Regions from separate parts of the Homo sapiens genome. Here regions 2 and 3 are each linked to region 1. The links are contacts of gene promoters, found by promoter capture Hi-C in human tissues and cell types (Jung and others, 2019). All regions are on one chromosome and are shown on one strand. The core of a region is centred on a gene start or on the middle of the fragment in contact, and the rest is flanking DNA. Distances in the headings are between cores, read along the strand shown. Region 1 holds the start of ZNF525 (zinc finger protein 525). Region 2 has its middle 6.2 kb from the start of ZNF816-ZNF321P. Region 3 overlaps ZNF320 (zinc finger protein 320).

What was found. The method cuts DNA at HindIII sites, captures the fragments that hold promoters and counts their contacts. A contact is called where the count stands out against the background at its distance.
Region 2: a contact is called between a fragment that was not itself captured here and the fragment with the promoter of ZNF525 in region 1, in 1 of the 25 tissues and cell types used here (spleen).
Region 3: a contact is called between a fragment that was not itself captured here and the fragment with the promoter of ZNF525 in region 1, in 1 of the 25 tissues and cell types used here (small bowel).

What each region holds. Positions count from the first base shown.
Region 1 is chr19:53,362,705-53,366,954 of GRCh38, forward strand. ZNF525 (zinc finger protein 525) reads left to right here and starts at 3,001. Exons shown (of 4, transcript NM_001348156.2): 1 at 3,001-3,055. RefSeq lists silencers at 2,889-2,938, 3,339-3,398 and an enhancer at 3,049-3,298. The HindIII fragment of the contact is 12,378 bases long and covers 1-4,250 here.
Region 2 is chr19:52,967,122-52,971,111 of GRCh38, forward strand. It overlaps the pseudogene ZNF702P. Among named protein-coding and RNA genes, the nearest start is that of ZNF816-ZNF321P, 6.2 kb to the left of the region's middle. The HindIII fragment of the contact is 4,137 bases long and covers 526-3,990 here.
Region 3 is chr19:52,883,466-52,887,974 of GRCh38, forward strand. All of the region lies in intron 5 of ZNF320 (zinc finger protein 320), which reads right to left. Among named protein-coding and RNA genes, the nearest start is that of ZNF320, 12 kb to the right of the region's middle. The HindIII fragment of the contact is 3,146 bases long and covers 615-3,760 here.

The DNA of each region.
Region 1 (4,250 bases), core at 1,751-4,250:
AAAAAGGAATCTCTACTCCAAGACTAAAAATAATAAGTCTTGTTTCTGGTCCTGAACATCCACAATTATGGATGCTTACTGTGGCCTCATATTGCATTAGAATTTGATCTGGAAATCAAGCTATATAAAGAAGAGATCGCAAGCCATTTTATACTATCGACCTAAATTCCAGTCTAACAGTTCCTTTGCAAAGTTGTATAAAGCCCCCTTATATGCTAGTTGTAGGAAATATAGTTATTAAACCAGACTCCCAAACTATAACCTGTGAAAACTGCAGATTGTTTACTTGCATTGATTCGACTTTTAATTGGCAGCACCATATTCTGCTAGTGAGAGCAAGAGAAGGCGTGTGGGTCCCTGTGTCCATGGACTGACCGTGGGAGGCCTCGCCATCCGTCCATATTTTGACTGAAGTATTCAAAGCCATTTTAAATAGATCCAAAATATTCTTTAATTGCAGTGATTATGGGACTAATTGCAGTCACAGCTACGGCCTCTGTGGCAGGAGTTTCATTGTACTCTTCTGCTCAGACAGTAAACTTTTTTAATTATTGGCAAAAGAATTCTACAAGATTGTGGAATTCATAATCTGGTATTGATCAAAAATTGGCAAATCAAATTAATGACCTTAGACACAATGTTGTTTGGATGGGAGATAGGCTCACGAGCTTGAAACATCATTTCTGGTTACACTGTGACTGGAATATGTCACATTTTTGTATTACATCCTAAGCCTATAATGAGTCTGAGCATCATTGGGACATGGTTAGATGCCATCTACAAGGAAGAGAAGATGATCTTACTTTAGACATTTCAAAATTAAAAGAAAAATTTTTGAGGCATCAAAAACCCATTTAAATTTGGTGCCAGGAACTGAGGCAATCGCGAAAGCTGCTGATGGCCTCGCAAATCTTAACCCGGTCACTTGGGTTAAAACCATCGCAAGTTCCACTATTGTAAATTTCATATTAATCCTTGTGTTCCTGTTCTGTCTGTTGTTAGTCTGCAGGTGTACCCAGCAGCTCCGAAGAGACAGCGACCATTGAGAATGGGTGATGACGACGATGGTGGTTTTGTCAAAAAGAAAAGGGGGAAATGTGGGGAAAAGAAAGAGAGATCAGACTGTTACTGTGTCTATGTAGAAAAGGAAGACATAAGAAACTCCATTTTGATCTGTATTAAGAAAAATTGTTCTGCTTTGCGATGCTGTTAATCTGTAACTTTAGCCCCAACCCTGTGCTCACAGAAACATGTGCTGTATTGAATCAAGGTTTAATGGATTTAGGGCTGTGCAGGGTGTGCCTTGTTAACAATATGTTTGCAGGCAGTATGCCCGGTAAAAGTTATCGCCATTCTCCATTCTCTGTTAACCAGGGACACAATGCACTGCGGAAAGCCGCAGGGACCTCTGCCCTAGAAAGCCTGGGTATTGTCCAAGTTTCCCCCCACTGAGACAGCCTGAGATATGGCCTCATGGGAAAAGAAAGACCTTATATCCCCCAACCCGACACCCGTGAAGGGTCTGTGCTGAGGAGGAGTAGTGAAAGAGGGAGGCCTCTTTGCAGTCAAGATAAGAGGAAGGCTTCTGTCTCCTGCTCATTTCTGGGAATGGAATGCCTCGGTGTAAAGCCGACCATTCATTCTATTCTGAGGTAGGAGAAAACCGCCCTGTGGTTGGAGGTGAGACATGCTGGCAGCAATACTGCTCTGTGACTCTTTGCTACACTGAGATGTTTGTGTGAAGAGAAACATAAATCTAGCCTACGTGCACATCCAGGCACAGTACCTTTCCTTGAACTTATTCATGACACAGATTCCTTTGCTCACGTTTCCCTGCTGACCTTCTCGCCACCATCACCCTGTTGCCCTGCCACACTCCCCTCACAAAGATAGTAAAAATAGTGATCAATAAATACTGAGGGAACTCAGAGACCAGCGCCGGTGCGGGTACTCGCACACTGAGCTCCGGTTGTCTGGGCCCACTGCTGTTTCTCTATACTTTGTCTCTGTGTCTTATTTCTTTTCTCAGTTTCTCATCTCCACCTGATGAGAAACACCCGCAGGTGTGGAGGGGCAGGCCCCCTTCAGGCTGAGGCAGGGGAATCACTTGAACCCAGGAAGCAGAGGCTTGCAGTGAGTCGAGATCCCACCACTGCACTGCAGCCTGGATGACAGAGAAATACTCTGTCTCAAAACAAAAGAAAAGAAATAAGTAAATACATAAAAGAAAGTAACAGATCTCTTCCACAAATGTGGAATGGACAACTAACTGGATATCCACATGGAAAAGAACAATGTTGGATCCCTATCTCATACAATCAACCTCTTATTTTAAAACGTAAAAAAAAAACAACGAAAAATAAAGAGAGAAAGAGAGAAACGAGGAAGGGAGCCCTGCGGGAGGGGGTGTTACTTTGTCGCCCAGGCTGGCCTGGACCCCCAGGTTCAGCGATCCTCCCGCCCTGCTTCCTGAGTAGATGGGACCTCAGGCTCCCGCGCCCGCGTCCGCATCCTTGCTGTGTTTATCCGGCAGGTGGTGACCTCACTCCTCGCTGGCCTGAGCACTCCGTCCAGCATCCCAGGCGGTGGCTTTAGGGAAGTCTCTGCAGCTGAGCACAGGGTGGACTCTCCCTCCGGAGTGAATGGAGAATAGAAAGGGAGAGGATTTCTATTCTATTCTCTGGGCCGTCAGCATGACATTGTAAGTTCTGCCCAAGCAGGGCTTTGCATTTCACATTCTACTTTGCATCCGCGTTTCAGACAATTCCAGGGCTTTTGAATCATGGATCGGCCTTCCTGGCCATCTCGCCTCCAAAACCCAAAAACAGAGGCGGTGGGAGGGAGGCTGAGAGACGCACAGATCCCGCCCCAGCCCAGCCCCGCCCCGCCCTCTGCCGGTACTAAAGGGCAAGGTCTCTCCGCCTCTACCCCTACCTGGCCCAGGCCCCGCCCACCTCCTCGCAGGCCCCGCCCAGGCCTGGCTTCTGTCCTTCCCCGCTCAGACGCGCGCAAACCCGGAAGCAGATCGCGTGGAGTGAAGGTCCCTCAGCGGCGCGTGAGTTTCGCTCCATCTTGTATGAAGTCTGCTCTTCCCAGGTCCCCGGCGCTTCTGTCCCTGGGACGTGGGGTCCCTACAGACCTGGAAATTCTCACCCGTCTTCCTTCGCCCAGAGCAAATTGAGACGTCCCCGTGAGAGCCCGGGGGTCACTTCCTTTTGGGTTTAAAGTCTCCCTGAGGCTGGTCCCGTTCCGGATCTTTCTGCTATAGGGCAATATATACACTTTCTATCGCGTAGTTTTCCTGCTCTAAACCTTTTTCTGACTCCTCCCGCCCCGCGCTTTTTAAAGTCCTCACCCGAGAGGTGAATTCCCGCCCTGGGCGCCTCCCAGCCTCGCCCTCGTCGGCCCCTAGAGCGCAGCGTCGCAGCTCCGGTCCCGGGGAGGCCGAGTTCTCTGCCTGTCCTGGGATCCTACAAACCCCACCCTTGTCTTAAGGCGCCGTCGCCCCCCACGTCCCTCCTCATGCCGGGCCCTGCTGCTCCCCAGGTCTCCCATCCGCAGTCACAGCTTGCCCTGAGCCTGCGTTAGGGGAGGTGCCCGGGTTCTGTCCTGTGACACGGGGTGTTCTTGCCTGCCCAGTTCCAGCCCCTGGAAAATAAGCTCCTCCGGGATGCAGGCGTCTTACTCCAAACCCTCCTGTGATTGTGTGGGCCAAAGGGATCGGGAGACAGACAGCAGTAGAAAACCTGAGACAGAGAAAAGAAGAATGAGAAAGGCCCATAACAGATGGCAAAGTAGAGGATGGGTGAGGGATTTGCCAAGAGACAGCAAAAGTGAAAAAAAAAAAAAAAAAGATAAGCAGGAGGAGAAAAGCAACTAGAGAAATGTAGAGAAAAGCTAGATGTACAGAGAGATGAAGGACAGCAAGGTAGGGAGAGGGACAGCAAAGAGGGAGGCTCATCAGGGTGAGGGAGAGGAGGAGGGATTTGGAGCCAGGGCAGACAGAGCAGAGTGGTGCTGGTGGCAAAGAGAACAGAGGGAGAACCACAGCAGGGAGGACACCTGGGGATCTGGGGTGCCAGAGAGTGGGGACAGGGGGTATAACAGAGAAGAGAGAATTTAACGGGGAGAGCAGAGGAGGCGCAGAGATGGTGTTGCGGGAAACTGAGGACTAGAGAGACTGATATGGGGGAGACAGGAGGATGTTTATTTAAGGTACACAGCGGCTCAGCAGATTTACATCTAAAAAG
Region 2 (3,990 bases), core at 1,344-3,843, 400 kb before region 1:
GGCACAAACAAGATTATTGTTTTTCTCTGAAACTGATGTGGATGGTCTGCCTGCTGCTCCACGTGTAACCTTCAACATTGTCTTCTCCCAACTCAAAATTAGTTATCCATTTACAAACTGTTGATTTCTTTTGGGCATCGTCCCCATAACCTTTTCATAAAGCATCAATGATATCATAATTCATCTACCCAAACTTTACCATAAGTATTCTTTTTTTGAGACATGCTGGAGTGCAGTGGCAAGATCACAGCTCACTGCAGCCTCGACCTCCCAGGCTCATGCCATCCTCATGCTACAGACTCCACAGTAGCTGGCCCTGCAGTCAGGTGCCACCCTGCCCAGTGAATTTCTGTATTTTTTGTATAGAAGGGGTTTTCACCATGTTGCCCAGGCTGGTCCTGAATGCCTGGGCTCACGTGACCCACCTGTCTTGGCCTCTGAAATTACTGGAATTACAGACCTGAGACACTGCAACTGTTCTCATCATAAATTTTATGTTTCTTCTTGTTTCAATTTTAGCAGAATTTGTATTCCTTTGATACAGTCTCTTTTCAAACTCATGTCTTATCCTTCTCAGTGCCTCAAACTAGAGCCTGTTCAGACATGTTATAACAGATTTGTATCAGTTTATTTTGGTGCAAAAACTGTGAAATTCATGCACAATTTTTCCATAATATGTATTTTTCCATGAGCTTCTTGAAGACCACTTGTACTAGAAAACTGTATTCAAGAGGATATATAAAAGGATTGTAGATATGCAAGTGCCATTTACTTCTGGCATGCAAGGATGGTTCAACATATTCAAGCAAATCAATGTGATATACCACTTGAACAGAATGAAAGATGAAAACCACATCATCTCAACAGATGGAGAAAAATCATTTCACAAAATTCAGCATCTGATCATCATAGAAATCTTAAACAAAATAGATGGAGAAGGAAATTTACCTCACCAATAGAAAGACCATTGATGAAATGACCAATGTGGAGATAACCAAGCAGGGAAAATAGAATCCTTTTCCCGTAGGATCTCACATGATGCAAGAACGTTCTCACTTTTTCTATTCAATAAATACTGGAAGTCCTAGCCAGAGCAATGAACTAGCAAAAGAAATGAAATGCCTCAAAATCAGAAAAAGTAAAATTATATTTTTTGTAGATGACATGATCTTCTGTGTAGAAAATCACAAAGAGTCAACCAAAATACTACTGTGACTAATAAACACATCAGTAGATTTGCACAATACAATATCAGCACCAAAAATTCGTTGAATTTTCATACATTAACAATAAACAATTTTAAATGAAAATTTAAAAACACTTCCATTTGCTAGAGAACTTAAAGTAAGAAATAGGAATAAATGGAAAGAAGTGAGAAATTCATACATTGAAATCTACAAACATTGATCAAAATGATTAAAAACATATATAAAGATATAACCCATATTGATGTTTTGGAAAAATTAATACTGTTAAATGATTACATAACCCAATGTGATTTTGATTCAACACAATACCCATAAAAATCTCTATCAGTTTTTGTTGAAGAAACAAAAAACAGACTGGGAAAGGTGCTCACCTCTGTTGGCCAGGCTGCTCTCAAACTCCTGATCTCAAGTGATCTACCTGTCTTGGCCTCCCAAAGTGCTGGGATTACAGGTGTGAGCCACCGCACCTGGCCTAATCCTCTTAACATAAACACTTTAATCTCAACAAATACTTGAACTCAATGTTAAGTCAACTCAAACTGAACTCAATGCTGATTTGAATCTAACATCAATTGTGCTTGATGGTTTGCTATACTCATTGCATTTGAAATTATTACCTCAAAAATGAATTTCCTGATGTCCTGCAAGGAGTGACCTCAGACTAAAGATCTTGCCACACATATGACTTTTGTAAGATCTCTGTCTAGTATGGATTCTCTGATGTGTAATGAGGCATGAACCTGAAATAAAGGCTTTGACACAATCATCACCCTTGTGAGGTTTCTTTCTTGTATGAATTCACCTGTGTTTTGCATAAGATGAAGCTTGACTGAAGACCTTGCCACAATCATCACATTTGTAAGGTTTCTCTCCAGTATGAGTTCGCTGATAAACTGCAAGGTATGAACGAAGTCTGAAAAATTTGCCACATTTATAACACTTGTAAGTTCTCACTTCATTATGCATTCTCCAATAATTTGCAATGGTTGTAGCATTACTGAGGACTTTGTGACAATCATTACATTAGTAAAGTTTCCCTATGACATGGATTGCTTGATGGTGAATAAGTGTTGACTGACCACTGAAGGCTCTGTCACACTCATCACACTTGCACGGTTTCTCTCCAGTGTGAATTCTAGTATGTTGTGCCAGGTGTGAATCACACCCGAATGCCTTGTCACAAACCTTACATTTCTATGGTTTCTCTCCAGTATGAACTCTCCTATGTATTTCAAGGCGTGAATTGAAATTGAAAACTTTGTCACATTCTTCACATTTGTAAGGTTTTTCTCCGATATGAACTCTATGATGATGTTCAAGGTTTGATTTTCAATTAAAAACCTTGCCACATTCATTACACTTGTAAGGTTTCTCTCCAGTATGAAGTCTATGATGACATGCAAGGTTTGATTTGTGATTAAAAACCTTGCCACATTCATTACACTTGTAACATTTCTCTCCAGTATGAATGACCTTATGCATTACAAGAGATGAATTTTGAACAAAGGTCTTGCCACACTCATTACACTTGTAAGGTTTCTCTCCAGTGTGAATTACAATATGTTGTGCCAGGTGTGAATCACGTCTGAAAGCCTTGTCACAAACCTTACATTTGTACGGTTTCTCTCCAGTATGAATTCTCCTATGTCTTTCAAGGTGTGATTAGCGACTAAAAACTTTGTCACATTCTTCACATTTGTAAGGTTTCTCTCCAGTATGAAGTCTATGATGACTTGCAAGATATGCTTTTTGATTAAAAACCTTGCCACATTCATTACACTTGTGAGGTTTCTCTCCAGTATGAATTGCCTTGTGAATTACAAGGGATGACTTGTAACTGAAGGTCTTGCCACACTGATTACACTTGTAAGGTTTCTCACCAGTGTGACATCTATGATGGTATGCAAGGTATCGCTTCTGATTAAAGACCTTGCCACATATATCACATTTATATTTTTTCTCTCCTAAATGGATTATCTGACATTTTTTTAACAGTGAGCTACAATTAAAGGCTTTGCCACTCTCATTACATTGGAAAGATTTTTCTCTCATGTGTGCTTCCTGGAGGAAATTATTCCCATACTTATTAGAAATATGGGTTTTAGGAATACAAGAAATTCTTTGGGATGCTGAAACTGAGGAAGCATCATTGACAGACTTCTCATCTTGACTATCAATTTTCCCTTTGCTCTGCAATATATGCAGTTCAGGCAGATGTGAATGAAAGCTTGATCCAAGCTGATCTTTAATAGGTTTGTTTCCAGCATGCCTTTGATCATATCAGTCTGTATTACCTGTCAACTTTTTTATCTCTGTCATGAGTGCTTCATGGCCATTTCTTTCATCTTCTTGCCACTGAAACTCAAAGTCCTGAAAATCTTTCTCAATTTCCTGGAAGGAAAAATCTCCAGTGTGATGACTTGCTTGTCTTTGCAATGTCCCTGTGTGGAACACTTCTGTATTGCCTTGCCTTCTTGATGAGAACTTCCTTGTCATGCATTTGGAAGAGATAGCTACAAAATATAAACAACAATAGGTTTCCAATTAAGTGCAGATGGTAAATAATACTGAAATATGTAACTAGGACACAAAAAACAATATTTATTTTGAAATTCCCAAACATGATTTTCAAAGTTTAAGAACACAAAAGGAGTAAGGTTCTTTAATAAATAAAGGGCGATTACAAGTCCTTTAAATCATTTCTACAGAAGCCTATTCCCAATATCATGACGAAACACTGACAGGGCACAAACATGTGTAAGCCTAAAGTAAGGAGTGTTTT
Region 3 (4,509 bases), core at 938-3,437, 480 kb before region 1:
ATTCTAAACAATTCCCTCTTAAGAAAAAGGCCATAACTTGTAGTTACCACCCGTACACAACATAAGAACTGAAATACATGTTAAAATCACTACCTTCTGAAGTATGAGGTGAAGAAAATACACAGAATTATAAGGAATAAGAATTGACTAATGGCCGGCCACGGTGGCACATACCTGTAATCCCAGCATTTTGGTAGGCTGAGTCGGGTGGATCATGAGGTCAGGAGTTTGAGACCAGCCTGGAACAAATGGTAAAACCCCATCTCTATTAAAAATACAAAAAAAATTAGCTGGACGTGGTGGCAGGTGCATGTAATCCCAGCTACTTGGGAATCTGAGGCAGGAATCATTTGAACCCAGGAGGCGGAGGTTGCAGTGAGCCAAGATAGTGCCACTGCACTCTAGCCTGGGCAACAAGATGAGATTCCATCTCAAAAAAAATAAAATAAGATAAATAACTACTTCTCATATAAGCTTTGGTAGATGTGGTATTCTCTAATAGGATGTTCCTGCAGATGCAGACTTTGAGAGAATTTAGTCATGGGTGTTGACTCCTCATGAATAGGACTAGTGCATTTATAGAGACATTAAAGAGCTCATTGCCTGTTCCTCTTTCTACCATATTGGGACATGGCAGGAAGATGGCTGGGCTAAACCGTGAAGAAGCCTCTCACCAGGAATCAATTTGGCTGGCACCTTGCTCTTGGATTTCCCACTTTCCAAATTCATGAGAAATAAATTTCTGTGTCTTAAGCTTCCCAGTTTAAGCTACTTCCTTTTTCGTTTATTCTTCAGATCGAGTCACGCTCTTATCACCCAGGCTAGAGTGTACTGGCAGGATTCTCCTACCTCAACTGATTCTCCCTCCTCAGCCCAGAGTCTCACTCTGTTGCCCGGGCTGGAGTGCAGTGGCGTGATCTCAGCTCCCTGCAACCTCCACCTCATGGGTTCAAGTGATTCTCCTGCCTCAGCCTCCCAAGTAGCTGGGATTATAGGCGCAAGTCACCATGCACAGCTGGTTTTTGTGGTTTTAGTAGAGATGGGGTTTTACCATATTGGCCAGGCTTGTCTTGAACTCCTGACCTCAAGTGATCAACCTGTCTCAGCCTCCCAAAGTGCTGGGATTTTAGGTGTGAGCCACTGCGCCTGGCCCATTTTTGGCATTTAGTACATTCCAGGTTTCACCATGTTGGCCAGACTGTTTTCAAACTCCTGACCTCAAGCAATCTACCCACCTTGGTCTTTGAAAGTGCTAGGATTAGAGGCATGAGCCACCGTGGCCAGTCAGTCTAAGCTATTTCTAACAGTGAAATGACAGAGAAAGGAACAGGAGCATCTCATCATCAACATCACCACAGGCTGACAAATCTTATTAAACAAAGGATGTTTAGGGTCTCTACTATAAATCTTGCAATACTTGAAGCCATCTAATAGCACTAACATGTTTTAAAAACCTTGAGACATGTAGGGCATGGTAATCCCAGCATTTTGGGAGGATGAGGTGGGAGATTCCTGAGGTCAGGAGATCAAGACCATCCCAGCTAACAAGGTAAAACCCCATCTCTGCTAAAAAAAAATACAAAAAAATTAGCCTGGCATGTTGGCACTCGCCTGTAGTCCCAGCTACTTGAGAGGCTGAGGCAGGAGAATCACTGGAATTTGGGAAGTGGAGGTTGCAGTGACCCAAGATCACACCACTGCACTTTAGCCTGGGTGAGAGACTGAGACTGTGTCTCAAAGAAAAAATAAATAAATGACAGAAGGCTAAAGAATAACTCCAACCCACAAACATATATAAAGTTCTCCAGTAAAGGTAAATAAAAAAAACGGGTAGGCTGGGCATGGTGGTTCATGCCTATAATCCCAGCACTTTGGGAGGGCAAGCCAGGCGGATCACCTGGGGTCAAGGGTTCGAGACCAGCCTGGACAACAAGGAGTAAACCCTGTCTCTACCAAAAATACAAAATTAGGCCAGGCGTGGTGGCTCATGCCTGTAATCCCAGCACTTTGGGAGGCTGAGGTGGGTGGATCACAAGGTCAGGAGATCGAGACCATCCTGGCTAACACAGTGAAACCCCGTCTGAACTAAAAATACCAAAAATTAGCCAGGCATAGTGGCCAGCACCTGTAGTCCCAGCTACTCAGGAGGCTGAGGCAGGAGAACTGCTTGAACCTGGGAGGTGGAGGTTGCAGTGAGCTGAGATTGCACCATTGCACTCCAGCCTGGGAAACAGGAGTGAAACTCTGTCTCAAAAAAATAAATAAATAAATAAAACAATAAAAATACAAAATTAGCTGGGTGTGGTGGCGCATGCCTGTAATCCCAGCTACTCGACAGGCTGAGGCAGGAGAATTGGTTGAACCGGGGAGGTGGAGGTTGTGGTGTCAAGATTGCAGCACTGCACTTCAGCCTGGGTGACAAGAGCAAAACTCTGTCTCATAAATACATAAATTAATTAATTAATAAAAGGACAGATACAGAAACTCGCATACGTATACCTTTTCTTCATAACTAAACTTTTTTTCATATTATTAAAAATGAAAATGTATGAAAAAACACTGTACATATATGTTAACAGAAATGCAACATACACAAAAATAACTCTGACAAAAATAAAAAAGTTCTACTGGAGAAGAAGTAGTTTTTGTAGGTTATGGAATTTTTTTATTTTTATTTTTATTTTTTTGACATGGAGTCTCACTCTGTCTCCCAGGCTGGAGTGCAATGGTGCGATCTTGGCTCACTGCAACCTCCACCTCCCAGGTTCAAGTGACTCTCCTGCCTGAGCCTCCTGAGTAGCTGGGATTACAGCTGCCCACCACTGTGCCTGGCTAATTTTTGTAAATTTAGTACAGATGAAGTTTCATCATGCTACCCAGGCTGGTTCTGAACTCCTGACCTCAGGCGATCTGCCCACCTCGGCATCCCAGTGCTGGAATAACAGGTGTCAGCCACTGCACCTGGCCAGGTTATGGAAATTTTAAGCTTCATTATTGTGCTATAAGTTTAAGATGTTTAACATACCTGCAACAATAACCTCTCCCCATATATCAATACAACGCACTTCACTTCTGCGTACTGAACGGAATGGACACTAATGTGGTTGTTATATTCACACTGGAATCATGTTTAAACCACTTATGTTTACTAAGAACTAAAAGACAAAACTATTTAAAAGAATAACCATGGTTGGGCATGGCAGCTCGCGCCTGTAATCCCAGCATTTTGGGAAGCCGAAGCAGGTGAATCACTTGAGATAAGGAGTTTGAGACCAGCCTGAACAACATGGTGAAACCCCATCTCTACTAAAAACACAAAGTGAGCTGGGCATGGTGGTGAGCGCCTGCAGTCCCAGCCTCCAAGAAAGGTGGGGCACAAGAATCCTTTGAGCCTGAAAGGCAGAGGCTGCAGTTAGCCAAGATCGTTCCACTGCACTGTAGCCTGGATGAAAGAGTGAAACTATCAAAAGAAAAAGAAAGAAAAGAAGAAAGAAAGAAAGAAAAGAAAGAAAGAAGGAAGGAAGGAAGGAAGGAAGGAAGGAAAAGAAAAAACAAAACAAAAGAAAAGAAAAGAAGTAAATAAGGAAAGAGCAGAGGGATAAGTGAGGGCAAAGAAAGATGTCCCTTCAGAGATCTCAGGATTGAAACTTTTCTTTTGCCACAGAATTCTCCCACTTGCAGAGAGTTTCCCCACACACTATTTGAAGGTGGAGCTTCCACTCTGCCCATCTGAGCTCTTACCTGCGTTTACACCTGTAATACATTCCCACCCATCTGGAGTTTTTTGTTATTTTCACTTAACTCTCCACAGTCCAGGGCTCTTTCCCTTGCTCCAACATGGAGATAACAGGTCAGAAAGAGACTCGTGCTTATAAAAAGAAAGGACCATGATGTGCTGGAGCTTTTCTAGAGTCCCAGCCCTATATTTCTGTAGGAAAGAAGACATTACAGGTGGATCTAGGAAAATATTTCACAAATTCCTCCACTGACTGCCTCATTCTGAATGCTGTTGGAGCACTGTAATATGTAATATGTGGACATCGGGCTATCTTCCAAGAACTAATGAGTTGAAAGCACAGGAGAAGCAAACAGGGAACTGGATATGTTTAAAGTCTACCATAAGGTTTTGTTTTTGTTTTTTGAGACAGTCTTGCTCTGTCGTCTGGGCTGGAGTGCAGCGGTGTGTTCTCGGCTCACTGCAACCTTGGCCTCCTGGGTTCAAGCAATTCTCTCTCCTCAGCCTTTCTAGGAGCTGGGATTGCAGGTGTGCACCATGACGTCCGGCTAATTTTTGTATTTTTAGTAGAGACAGGGTTTCACCATGTTGGCCAGGCTGGTCTCAAACTCCTGACCTGAAGTGATCCACACACCTCAGTCTCCCAAGGTTCTGGGATGACAGGCATGAACCACCATGCCCAGCTTGCCATAAGGTTTTATGCCTACTTTAGTTCTGGAACCCACATTGAGGTATCATGAAGAACGCAGAACATCTAAACAAAGGGGACAGTG